Linked DNA regions of Homo sapiens: regions 2 and 3 are each linked to region 1. The links are contacts of gene promoters, found by promoter capture Hi-C in blood cells and fetal thymus (Javierre and others, 2016). All regions are on one chromosome and are shown on one strand. Each heading gives the region's core, a stretch centred on a gene start or on the middle of the fragment in contact. The rest is flanking DNA. Distances are from core to core; before and after follow the strand shown.

Region 1 (4,436 bases), core at 1,375-3,874:
GTGTACACGAACGCCCTGTAAACTTCCACATTCCACCACTTCCTTTCCAGATAGCAGCAGTGGTCAGGTCACGTGCTTGCCGGAGAGCAGAGAAAACACTTGGAGGCTGCTTCTGCAATTAAAATGGGCTGCATTTACAAGAATTACACAAAACCTTTCATCCTGCCAGAGAATGATGGGAGGGAGGCCCTGAGGGTGGAGCTCCAGCTGCCACTCAGAAGCTCAGGGTGGCATCTGGCCAGCAGCAGCAGAGAGGCTGGAGCCAGGGGGCTTGTGGCTCAGATGATGTCCCAGGAGAGAATATCGACACAGCTGTGTAACTGTAGCTTCTATTTCTTCTGATGCTGGAAACTCTCTTAGAATCATAGGATAAAAACTGGAAAACACTCTGATTGTATTTAATTCAACCTGTTTATTTAACGGACAGGGGAACTGAGGCCCAGAAACATAAATTAAATGGCCAGTGCTCACACAGAAATTAGGAAGAGGATTGAAGGAGGTGATTTTGGAGGGCTCCTCTAACCCATGATTCAGTGATTCTTGTGGTTCTTGCTTTCTCTCCAAGGGTTCTTTCCCCCAAACTGCAACCATGGTGTGAACCCCATTGAACATCCGTTGCTGAGTGCTTCCAGAATATAGAGCTCTCCTCAGCTCATGATCACAACCAAGACCCACCTAATATGATGCCAGTTTTTCACCTACTGTGTATTCCCAATACTATTTTAAAACACTGGTTCTCAGTCTTGGTGGCACAAGAGAATTACCTTAGGAACTGTAAACAAAAATTCTGATGCTCAGATCTTACTTCATATCAATTGAATCAGAATCTTTCGGGATGGGGCCTAAGAATTGGTAGTTAAAAGAAAAATTCCCAGTTGATTCCAATATACAATCAGGATGGTTAAATAGTTTTAAAACTGCTAAGTTTGGCTTTAGTCATGACTAATGGTAATATTAATTCTACCTGCTCCCCTTTCCCATCTCCAGTTAACACAGCTACATTCTCTGATTTACAGGCTGATTTTTCATGTGTTTATTCATCTAGGATAAGACATGATTAAGTGATACAGAATGGATTTATGTTATATGCCCATTATGCAGATGGTGAAAAGTGAGCCCAAAATTTTTTTAAAAAATGAGTATAACAGTAGCTTAGTATGAACAAATCCAAGGATTTTGAGAATTCCTAAATATATGGGGACACTGTTTACTTGCTTTAAGGATTGACTCTAAACATAGGCAAAGAAGATAAGCACTTGAGGGCCTGATTTAAAGAGTCCCGAGAATAGCTCTGATGAAAATCATCTCTTTTTCAGACTCATGTTAGATTGAGAAATCCCTACCAGTAGCCTTTGGAATATTAACCACAAACGTGATATTTCTGGGAGACTCCATGAAGCCTCCATTAATCGTTAGTATCATCTTTATATTAGTTATCTGCTTCCCAGCAGAAAGCTGTGTAATGAAGGAACGAGAGCCTGGCCAGATAAGCAGTGCTGTGGGTGGAGGAACAGATCAAGAGTATGGATGTTGGCCAGGCACAGTGGCTCACGCCTGTAATCCCAGCACTTTGGGAGGCCGAGGCGGGCAGATCACGAGGTCAGGAGTTCGACGCCAGTCTGGCCAACATAGTGAAACCCTGTCTCTACCAAAAATACAAAAAATTAGCCGGGTATGGTGGTGTGCGCCTGTAATCCCAGCTACTCTGGAGGCTGAGGCAGGAGAATCACGTGAACCTGAGAGGCGGAGGTTGCAGTGAGCCGAGATCTCGCCATTGCACTCCAACCTGGGTGACAGTGGGAGACTCTATCTCAAAAAAAAAAAAAAAGTATGGATGTTACCTAGGAGTATTGCAGTGTGGGCCCCTGGCTGCCTTAGGTGGGGTGAGGGTGCAAAAATCAGGCCTTAAAAAGGGAAACGGGGACTCATCATCAGGGTGGACGGAGAAATGGTTTGCCCCCACATACACCTGATACCTGCTCAAAGTTGGCACTTGTCCTCCTTCCTTCTCTCTGTTCTCCCTTATTGATGTCCTTTCAGTCCTGCTGAGGCCAGCCCATGCTAAACATCACCCTGGTTCTTGGGTCTTTGTTCAGCATCAGTAGCAATATCATGACAATAACTACCAATAATAAGCAACAAATACCATTTTAATACTTTCTGGTGAGCACTGTATCCATGTCATTTCCTTTAAATCTCAAATCAACTCTTTTCTGATTGCAATCAAACCTGTTTTACTGAGGTCTCAATGTGGCTTAGCTAGGAACTGAAGCGTATATACAGTCTACACAAGGCTACATTATCCTTGCCCTCACATAGGGAGGAAGTACAACATAGAAAATGACCCCTTGGCAGAGATGGACTAAAGCAAAATCTGCAAAGACTTTTTCTTTAAAAGGCTGGCAGGGATTCTGGAAAGAACCACTAACTGCCTTGTCTGACTCAGCATCAAGATGGAAAAATATACAGAGGCTGTTGCCTTCCCCACAGCCTAAGTCAAATCCACCTGCTTGCTCTGAGGCTGTCTGGGAGGCCACACATCACCATGCCCTTTCCTGGAGTCAATTCTTGGTCCCATGTCATTAGCCCCACCCTCGAAAGAACTCTGGGAATGGGGTTGCCTTGGAGTCCCCGGTTCCGTGTGGCTAAAGAGTGAGCCTCTCATATCTCCATGCTGAATTTCCTCACTCATTCACAACCCTCCTTTCCATTTCAAGAAATCTTTCTGTTCCCACAAGCCTGGGAGGGCCTTTGAGTGGGGCATATTGGGTAAGTTTGAAGGAGTACTGCCAGTGAGACCTTCAAAAGACTCTGTGTGAATGGGCTGGTGTTGGTGGGAGGAAACAGGGTCACAGATTCCCCTTCCCTTCCCCCTTGTAAGATGTGTCATCAGTTAAATATAGGCTCTGGCCCTGTGGACGTTTACAGGCTAAGACAGCCCGCCCTGACTGGGGCTCACAGCTTCTGAGAGGAGGACACTGGGATGTCTTCAGCCCATTTCACGTGGGCTGACTGTTTCCAAAACACTCCTGGTGGGTCAGCGAGCAGAGGAAGTGTTACCATGTGATCACTTTAGAAACACCCACCTAATGACGCACTAACACGGATTTGCCCTCTGTTTTTCACATTTGATCATTCCTGACACTTTGGCGAGGAAACAAAACCCTATTTCTCTTAGAAGTCACTCCTTCCCTGGATGTGAAAGAGGGCAGTGGTTTCCCTGTCAGTCCTCTTTTAGGGAAAGATCTGGGTGAGCACATGACCCAGCTCAGCTGGTCTGGGGCTGGACACAGACACAATTGTGAGAACTTGAACTGACTCACCAGGAAGCAGGTGGTTGGGACTAGGTACTGTTGTCTATTTCAGTGCTAGATATTGCCTTTAATGAAAAACTAGCCCCAATCAGAAAAAAGCCAACACCACGCTCTGCAATACTAAGTTGACTCACCTGTTGAAATGCTGTTTATTAAGCAAAACCAGTATCCTCAGAATTCCAGCTTTCACTTTCAAGTTTCTTATGTGGGATTTCATAGTATTGGGCCCAGTGATGTGTACATCAATGGTTTGGCTTGCTGTTTATGCTACTTATTTACTCGAGCAGTCACTCTGGTGTGTTCCCATGGCTTTTCTGAAAGTATTAGAATACAGCTCCCAAAGAATGTGAGTGCTATTGGAGAAATAAAATACATGGAAATCATATGGCATCCAGCAATTGCTATGCCTATCTTGAGATAGCTGATCCCTAGATAAGCTTGGTAGTTGTGTTACCAATGATGTCTTTTCTTAGTACACATAGATTGTACTCAAGGAATAGCAAAATGTTACAACACTGATTCTTCCTCCTATAGTTAATGGCATTTTAAAAGAGTTATGCTTGACTAAAGACATAGTTTTTAAAAATGCAAATATTGAGTGCTTTCAATTCCCTAAGCATGGTGTTTTCTGCTTTACCTGCAATGTATTAATTAATTTTCACAGAAAACTATGAGGCAGCGGCTACTATCATCCCCATTTTACAGATGAGAAAACCGAGACTTAGAAAGGTTAAGTAATCTGCTCAGGCTCACAGTTCATATCCCATTTCTAAGAGACATTTTTTTTTCATTCTAATACTTTTGAAATTCAGTATGTATTTTATAGTTGATTGGTGCATTTAAAATGGAACATCTTACAAATTGATGGCTACTTAGAACTGAGAAAATATAACTGACAGAAGCAAGCATCAAAACCACGTCTACCTGATTCTAGTATTGGATCATCCAACCACAGTGGCTTGAGTGTCAAAGGAAACAACCTGTGTCTAAGTAATGACCATAAAAGTAATAACTAGTCCACATTCACATTGAAGATAATGGTTCATATTCTTCCTATTTGATACTATTTACTCTATTAGAAAAATTGTCTGGTTTGGTCCGTTCAATTAGATTTATCTATTT
Region 2 (4,436 bases), core at 639-3,138, 230 kb before region 1:
CCAATTTATTTTGAACATCTAGGTTTTTCATAGTCTGTTAAGGTCTTTAGTCATTCTTGCTTATAAGAACAAATCGTTTTCTCCAGTTGTAACCTTGATTTACTTGCCTTTCTTTACTTACATGCTTTTTGTTTTGTTTTCTTTTTGTTTTTGTATATGCTCTCCATCGCCCTCTACCGGGGCAGACAGGGTGGTGTAGCAGCAAAGAGCTCCCAGACCTGGGTGAGCTTCAGATTTTTATCTGGAAAATGGGGATAACACACCCATCTTGTAGAAGTGTTGAAAGGATGAGGAGAAAATATGTATGTAATGTGTCCATCAAGTGCTTAGCACATGGTGTGGTGGCACTAGATACATGTAACTGCAGCTGTTATTTTCTTTTTCTCTTTTTTTCCAAGTTATCAGCATTTATTTATTTTTATTTATCAACTTCTATTTTCAGTTCCAGGGTACATGTGCGGGATATGCAGGTTTGTTACATAGGTAAACGTGTGCCATGGTGGTTTGCTGCACAGATCAACCCATCACCTAGGTATTAAGCCCAGCACCCATTAGCTGTTCTTCCTGATGCTCTCCCTCTTGACAGGCCTCAGCCTGTGTCGTTCCCCACCCACCCCATGTGTCCATGTGTTCTCATCATTCAGCTCCTACTTATAAGTGAGAACATGTGGTGTTTGGTTTCTGTTCCTGCATTAGTTTGCTGAGGATAACAGCTTCCAGCTCCATCCATGTCCCTGCAAAGAACATGATCTCATTCTTTTTTATGGCTGCATAGTATTCCGTGGTGTATATATACCACATTTTCTTTATCCAGTCTATTATTGATGGGCATTTGGGTTGATTCCATGTCTTTGCTACTGTGAGTAATGCAGCTGTTATTTTCTTGTGTATCCAAAGTCCTCTTTGTGACCTTTCTTTCCCTTACTTTGTGGGCTCTGCAGGTTGCCCTCTTCTTTGAAATCCCAGCACCCTTTTCTCAAATCTTTCAAAGAGAATCAATTGCTTGGGAGAAAATTTCCCTTCCTTATCAGGATCAGTTTGGCTATTGCAGAACATGCTGGGGTTCTTTCTTTGTCTGGTTGGTACCTAGCTTGGATTTTCTCCAGTCCTCCCATGTTAGTGGAGGGTGTAGCCTTCAAGAATACAGCTGCCTATGGGAGGCAGCCTCATCTTTAAATGAAATTTCTGAGTCTAAGGACAAGTAAGGATGAGCCTATGTTTAGCCTATGTTTAGGGATGTCCAGATATGTTATGTACAGTGAGGGTGACTATAATTCAACACCACATTGGAACACTTCTGAAAATGAAAGAGAACACTAAAATCTTTTAAAATGCTTTTAAAATACTTATTTATTAAACAACAAATTTTTTTTTGTTGTATTAGCAGACCTGCAAAATAGTTTTATTCAAATCATTTTTCAAAAATGAAATCCTTTTAAAAATATAAATACATCTGTGTCTATAATTAGCCCAAATTTAAAATTTCATTATGTTTTTAAATTTAAAAAAATAATACAAGCAGAATATTTATTCTTCATACATATTCTTGTACTTGAATCAGTTTCTTAACCATATTTGTCTCTAATTCTGTGACAGTAGTATTTTACTAAAGAATGTATTTTTTAAAATATGATCTAATTTTTAATTTTTTCATAAAATTATCTGAAGTCTTGTTCACAGTTGTCATTTATGGTTAATGAATTTGAAATTGTTTATGCCTTCATTTGTTTCTTCTCTGCAGAACATAATATCGTTAATGGAGAAAATACTCTCAGTATAGATATTGAAGTACCCAGTAAGCTTAAAGAAAATTATTCTAAATGGAGGCTATTCCCAAATCTATTTTGTTTTATATTGAAATGAAACAATATGTCAACCCCAACATTTTCAGAGGTACTGTCTTTTACCTGTATTCAGAATATTTTTTCTTAAGAAATGTTTTTACATAACAGACACATCAAATATAAGTTGTCTGTATAAGCTTTTGGAGTCTTTTAGCAGAGTTTCAGATGTTATAAAAATCATAGCCCTATTCGGCTCAAAATAAAGGGATGGAGGAAGATCTACCAAGCGAATGGAAAACAAAAAAAGGCAGGGGTTGCAATCCTAGTCTCTAATAAAACAGACTTTAAACCAACAAAGATCAAAAGAGACAAAGAAGGCCATTACATAATGGTAAAGGGATCAATTCAACAAGAAGAGCTAACTATCCTAAATATATATGCACCCAATACAGGAGCACCCAGATTCATAAAGCAAGTCCTTAGAGACCTACAAAGAGACTTAGACTCCCACACAATAATAATGGGAGACTTTAACATCCCACTGTCAACATTAGACAGATCAACGAGACAGAAAGTTAACAAGGATATCTAGGAATTAAACTCAGCTCTGCACCAAGCGGACCTAATAGACATCTACAGAACTCTCCACCCCAAATCAACAGAACATACATTCTTCTCAAGACCACACCTCACTTATTCCAAAATTGACCACATAGTTGGAAGTAAAGCACTCCTCAGCAAATGTAAAAGAACAGAAATTGTAAAAAACTGTCTCTCTGACCACAGTGCAATCAAACTAGAACTCAGGATTAAAAAACTCACTCAAAACCGCTCAACTACATGGAAACTGAACAACCTGCTCCTGAATGACTACTGGGTACATAATGAAATGAAGGCAGAAATAAAGATGTTCTTTGAAACCAACGAGAACAAAGACACAACATGCCAGAATCTCTGGGACACATTTAAAGCAGTGCTTAGAGGGAAATTTATAGCACTAAATGTCCACAAGAGGAAGCAGGAAAGATCTAAAATTGACACCCTAACATCACAATTAAAAGAACTAGAGAAGCAAGAGCAAACACATTCAAAAGCTAGCAGAAGGCAAGAAATAACTAAGATCAGAGAAGAACTGAAGGAGATAGAGACACAAAAAAACCCTTCAAAAAATCAGTGAATCCAGGAGCTGGTTTTTTGAAAAGATCAACAAAATTGATAGACCACTAGCAAGACTAATAAAGAAGAAAAGAGAGAAGAATCAAATAGACACAATAAAAAATGATAAAGGGGATATCACCACTGATCCCACAGAAATACAAACTACCATGAGAGAATACTATAAACACCTCTACGCAAATAAACTAGAAAATCTAGAAGAAATGGATAAGTTCCTCGACACATACACCCTCCCAAGACTAAACCAGGAAGAAGTTGAATCCTGAATAGACCAATAATAGGCTCTGAAATTGAGGCAATAATTAATAGCTTACCAACCAAAAAAGTCCAGGACCAGATGGATTCACAGCCAAATTCTACCAGAGGTATAAGGTGGAGCTGGTACCATTCCTTCTGAAACTATTCCAATCAACAGAAAAAGAGGGAATCCTCCCTAACTCATTTTATGAGGCCAGCATCATCCTGATACCAAAGCCTGGCAGAGACACAACAAAAAAGAGAATTTTAGACCAATATCCCTGATGAATATCGATGGAAAAATTCTCAATAAAATACTGGCAAATCGAATCCAGTAGCACATCCAAAAGCTTATCCACCATGATCAAGTGGGCTTCAGCCCTGGGATGCAAGGCTGGTTCAACATACACAAATCAATAAACGTAATCCAGCATATAAACAGAACCAGAGACAAAAACCACATGATTATCTCAATAGATGCAGAAAAGATGTTGAATTTTGACAAAATTCAACAGCCCTTCATGCTAAAAACTCTCAATAAAATAGGTATTGATGGGATGTATCTAAAAATAATAAGAGCTATTTATAACAAACCCACAGCCAATATCATACTGAATGGGCAAAAACTGGAAGCATTCCCTTTGAAAACTGACACAAGACAGGGATGCCCTCTCTCACCACTCCTATTCAACATAGTGTTGGAAGTTCTGGCCAGGGCAATCAGGCAGGAGAAAGAAATAAAGGGTATTCAATTAGGAAAAGAGGAAGTCAAATTTTCCCTGTTTGCAGATGACATGATTCTATATCTAGAAAACCCCATTGTCTCAACCCAAAATCTCCTTAAGCTGATAAGCAACTTCAGCAAAGTCTCAGGATACAAGATCAATGTGCAAGAATCACAAGCATTTTTATATACAAATAACAGAAAAACAGAGAGCCAAATAATGAGTGAACTCCCATTCACAATTGCTTCAAAGAGAATAAAATACCTAGGAATCCAACTTACAAGGGATGTGAAGGACCTCTTCAAGGAGAACTACAAACCACTGCACAACAAAATAAAAGGACACAAACAAATGGAAGAACATTCCATGCTCATGGATAGGAAGAATCAATATCGTGAAAATGGCCATACTGCCCAAGGTAATTTGTAGATTCAATGCCATCCCCATCAAGCTACCAATGACTTTCTTCACAGAATTGGAAAAAACAACTTTAAAGTTCATATGGAACCAACAA
Region 3 (4,436 bases), core at 998-3,497, 180 kb before region 1:
GTCTGCTGCCCCTTTGAGATGGACTACTATGTGGTGCGCCAGCTCTCCTGGGAGCACGGCCACGTCCTGTGCACCTCTGTCAACTACCTGCGCACTGTCTCTCTCTATGTCTCCACCAATGCCCTGCTGGCCATCGCCATTGACAGGTGAGTGCAGCAGCAGTGGGGACAACAAAGGCGGTCAGGGAGGAAGGGGCATTGGAATTGCCCCCTCCTGTACTGCAGTTGCAGATTGATGAGAGGTGTCTCTATTCCCCCTAGATGTGGTTGCATGGGGGACTCAAAAGCTTGCCCATTGACTGACAGTGAGAAGAGTTCTCCTTTTCCAGCTTTGTTCAGACAGAAGACAGCAGAGCCCTCTAGAGTTGGGTGATGGGAAGCTTTTGATCTCCCTTGCTATGGATGTTTTCCTAGATATTACACCTTTCAAGGTCTAGAGTAGACAGGTAAGAGGAGATATCGAGGGAAACTTTAAGCGTCAGGCAGTTACCTCTTGAGTCAATGTGGAAATCTTGAAGGAGGTTTCTATCTCATCAAGACTTCCTCTACTAAAATATGACCTTCTAGCATCATCTGTTTTTAAATAAGATTCAAGGATTTATGACTGGCTGTGGTAAACAGTTCAAGCCTATAATCCCAGCAATTTGGGAGGCCGAGATAGGAGGAGCATTTGAGGCCAGGAGTTCGAGACCAGCATGGGCAACATATCCAGACCTCACCTTTTGAAAAAATTAAAAAATTAGCTGAGCGTGGTGGTGTGTGCCTGTAGTCCTAGCTAGTTGAGAGGCTGAGGCAGGAGGATCACTTGAGCCCAGGAATTCCAGGCTGCAGTGAGCTATGTTCATGCCACTGTGCTCCAGCCTGGGTGACAGAGGGAGACCTTGTCTCTAAAAAATAAATAAATAAATAAAAATAAAAAGATTGAGGGATTTGTTTTGAAAAAAAAGGGAACATATGTTTATTTACTTTTTGTTGTTGCATTAATCACTTTGCACCTTTTAGTCCATTTGCACAGATAGTGCAGAAGACCTGTTTCTGGTGATCGCAAATAAAATCAGTAAGAGCAGCCTCTGCATATCTTTCTTCAACTTAGTCTCTTCCTTTAGTGTAAACTTGTGCTAATGGGCCAGGCTGGTCTTTGTTCCTCGGGGGACAATCTTTGCTAGCTCCTCTGCCCACAGCTGGACTGTCATTACAAAGCACCTGGTTACAGTCTAGAGACAATTATCCTGAGGATCAAATCAGGCTTCTGTGTACTTGGATCTGAACAGCCTGTCTCTCTCCTTTAACCCAGAGAGCCTGAGGCATACATGCTCTCCCTGTTCTCTGGCCTCAAGGATCTGAGGGGGTTTGACCTGGCCCTCACAGTCAGGACAGTGTTCTAGGGAGGAGCACAGCTAAGAGAGCTTGTTTTCTGAGACCGTAGGCAGGGCGACCAGGGGTGGGATGACCGAAAAGGATAACCTGAAAAAAGGGGGTTACCAAGGAACCTCTGTCTATAAAACCGCTGAGGGGTGGAAACTCTGCCTCCCTTCTCTAGGGAAGGACATCAGGAAGTTAGCAGCTTACATAGCCCTTGGTCTGTCCCCGTAGATCCTTGCAGAGTGCTACTTCTTCTTGGCCAAATTCCCTCCACTGAATCACAGAGCCCTGCAGCTTTTCATTTACCTGGAGGCCAAATTCCCTCCACTGAATCAAAGAGCCCTGCAGCTTTTCATTTACCTGGACAAGGACCCCGCATGAACCCACTGAAGGAGCAGGAGGGGAGCAGTCAAGTAGAGTATCTACTTCGTAGGTTCCTTTCAAAGCTGCCAAGGAAGAGCTCCAGGGACTTTGTCTCTGAACTTTTTTGAAAGTAGAAGCCGCCACCTTCTCTCTTAGCCCATGAACAGGACAAAGCATACAGAGTCATTTCCTGAAGTTTCATACTAGCGAGAAACTACATGTGCTCAGCTACTAAAAGCAGGGTAGGGTGCCTCCTGTGGAGTGGGACCCTACTCCCCGGATGAGATCCATTTTACCACTTGAACGGAGTAACAATGGTAGGAGGAAGTAGCTTCAAGGGGAAAGGAAGCCAGGATACACTAAGGGGCATTGGGTTATTTGGAACATGTAAGAGTGATATCTATGTCAATCAGTCAGTCTCCATCTACTGAACTTCTTCAAGCTTATAACCTCCTTTCATACCAAACAGAGCTTGTCTGAAATACTGCAAGCATTTCTCTTGCAGTGTGAGTTTACACAAAGGAAATTAGATACAATAAGAAAGATGAATTAGAAAAAATGCTTTGCACCGTGGGAGCTTCTATGGTTGAGTGGGGTTATGATAGGAAGCTTGTACCCAGACCTCAAGGAAAGCACCATGTGCCTTCACAGGGCTGCCCAATGGTCTTGGTGGATGAATGGCTGCACCAATGCCCATTCTTTTATTGATGTTTGTGATCTTTGCTGCAATTATTTTTATTTGTATGTGTTGTTACCATCTAATTGTGGTCTAGGAATCATTAATTTTTCTCTGGTCTCACGTGTTGTTCAGGATTTGATCAGTTGGGAGCAACTAATTTTTATCTTGGTTTATAACAGATCTACTTAGTTGTAAAAATGTCTTTATTTTTGCTTAATGAAATTTCTGTAGCCATGTTGGCAGTTATTCTGCCTGGGTTTAAGTACCAGCTGTATTGTGTGTTGGGTATTATGTTAGTTATTTGACCTCTCTCTGCCTCAGTTTTCTCGCCTACAAAATGAGGATAAAAAGAAAGCCTATTGTATTGGGTTGCTTTGAGGATTGAATGAAATAAATATATTTAATTTCTTAGAACAATATTCAAAACAGTAAGCAATAAATAAACAGTGGATATGATAATTCTTAAATTAACCCTTATAGGAATGTCTACAACAAAAAAGCAGGTAAACTAATGAACATTTCTGACACACTAACCTTTTTGCTTTCATTGAAATTATTGTTTTTATGATGTGATTTAAAAAAAATACAAGATTTTTACAAAATGCCAGAACAGAACTATTTATCATCTACCTGCTTGTATTTGTCTATATTATTGGTTCCATTGTTCTCCGAGGCATCTAACCTAGAAGAAAGTCTCCTTTGTCCTGGCTGCTCTCCCTTCTTTACCAGCATTCATTCAACCTCCAGGTCTTGGCAATACCCGTTTGTTCATTCAGGGCTGGTATCCTAGTCTCCTCTTGGTCTTCCTGCCTTCAGTGTTTCTTGGATCTGCCCATCTGTCAACGCTACTCCCCTGACAATCCATCCTAAACTTTCATTCATTCATTCATTTAAACAATCCATTTTTATAGAGTAACTGTGATGTGACAGATGCTATTGCAAGCACTGGAGATACGACAGTGAATAAGACAAAAAAAACTCCTTGCTTTCCTGGAGCTTATAACCAAAGGATGGAGAGAGATCCAGTCAGGCAAACACAAAAGGAAGGTAATTTCAGAAGCAAGAAATACTCTGAACAAAAGAAGTACACAGGTAAAATGTCGAGGGTGGCTGAGGGTGGGACCTATTCTAGGTGAGTAGTCAAGAGAAGGGTCTCCGAGGAGAGGCCTTTGAACTGGCTTCTGAATGACACAGGGGGAAAGAGCCTGCCTTGGGAAGACAGGGAGCAAGCATCCCAGACAAGGGGGATTGTAAGTGAAAAGGCCCAGAGGCAGGAACAAACCAGATGGGTTCTACAAACAGAGGAACAGAGAGAAGCCTCCATGTGGCCCGAGGGAAGTAAGCAAGGCTGCAGCCAAATTAATCTTCTGTCTTGTACGTGTCTCCACTCTCCTGCTTAAAAACAAAAAACCAAACACCGCATATTCTCACTCATAGGTGGGAATTGAACAATGAGATCACATGGACACAGGAAGGGGAATATCACACTCTGGGGACTGTTGTGGGGTGGGGGGAGGGGGGAGGGATAGCATTGGGAGATATACCTAATGCTAGATGACGAGTTAGTGGGTGCAGTGCACCAGCATGGCACATGTATACATATGTAACTAACCTGCACAATGTGCACATGTACCCTAAAACTTAAAGTATAAAAAAAAAAGACCTCTAATAACTCCATTGTCTACAAAGTATGGCTCAAACTCTTTCACCTGTTCTTCCAAACTTTTATTATCTAGCCCCAGACTGCTTCCCAGTCTCATGGTTAAACATATTTATGTCCTGTTTTCCCAAAAATAGTTGCAATCTTTCTGAGAACTGTCCCCATGGCTTTTTATATATTAAAAATAAATTTTTTTAGAGATGAGATCTTGCTATGCTGCCCAGGCTAGTCTTGAACTAGTCTCAAGTAATTATTGTGCCCCGACCTCCCAAAGTGTTGGGATTACAGGTGTGAGCCACTGTGTCCAGCCAGCTTTTTACATGTCTATTCACCCAGCGCTAGGCACTCAATGAGGGTGAAGTTGCACCAAAAT

The links. The method cuts DNA at HindIII sites, captures the fragments that hold promoters and counts their contacts. A CHiCAGO score of 5 or more calls a contact.
Region 2: a fragment that was not itself captured here is called in contact with the fragment with the promoter of LINC01888 in region 1 in 1 of 17 cell types (activated CD4 T cells); the score reaches 5.3 in activated CD4 T cells.
Region 3: a contact is called between a fragment that was not itself captured here and the fragment with the promoter of LINC01888 in region 1, in 1 of 17 cell types (activated CD4 T cells). The highest score is 5.7, in activated CD4 T cells.

Annotation. Positions count from the first base shown.
Region 1 is chr2:68,829,384-68,833,819 of GRCh38, forward strand. It overlaps LINC01888 (long intergenic non-protein coding RNA 1888), which reads left to right and starts at 2,625. Exons shown (of 2, transcript NR_183895.1): 1 at 2,625-2,769. LINC01890 (long intergenic non-protein coding RNA 1890) reads right to left here. Exons shown (of 4, transcript NR_183884.1): 2 at 3,449-3,667; 3 at 1,977-2,122. RefSeq lists a cis regulatory region at 1-350 and an enhancer at 36-535. The HindIII fragment of the contact is 9,437 bases long and covers 1-3,749 here.
Region 2 is chr2:68,595,204-68,599,639 of GRCh38, forward strand. No RefSeq gene overlaps it. Among named protein-coding and RNA genes, the nearest start is that of PROKR1, 46 kb to the right of the region's middle. The HindIII fragment of the contact is 181 bases long and covers 1,799-1,979 here.
Region 3 is chr2:68,646,161-68,650,596 of GRCh38, forward strand. PROKR1 (prokineticin receptor 1) reads left to right here. Exons shown (of 3, transcript NM_138964.4): 2 at 1-146. Among named protein-coding and RNA genes, the nearest start is that of PROKR1, 4.8 kb to the left of the region's middle. The HindIII fragment of the contact is 167 bases long and covers 2,165-2,331 here.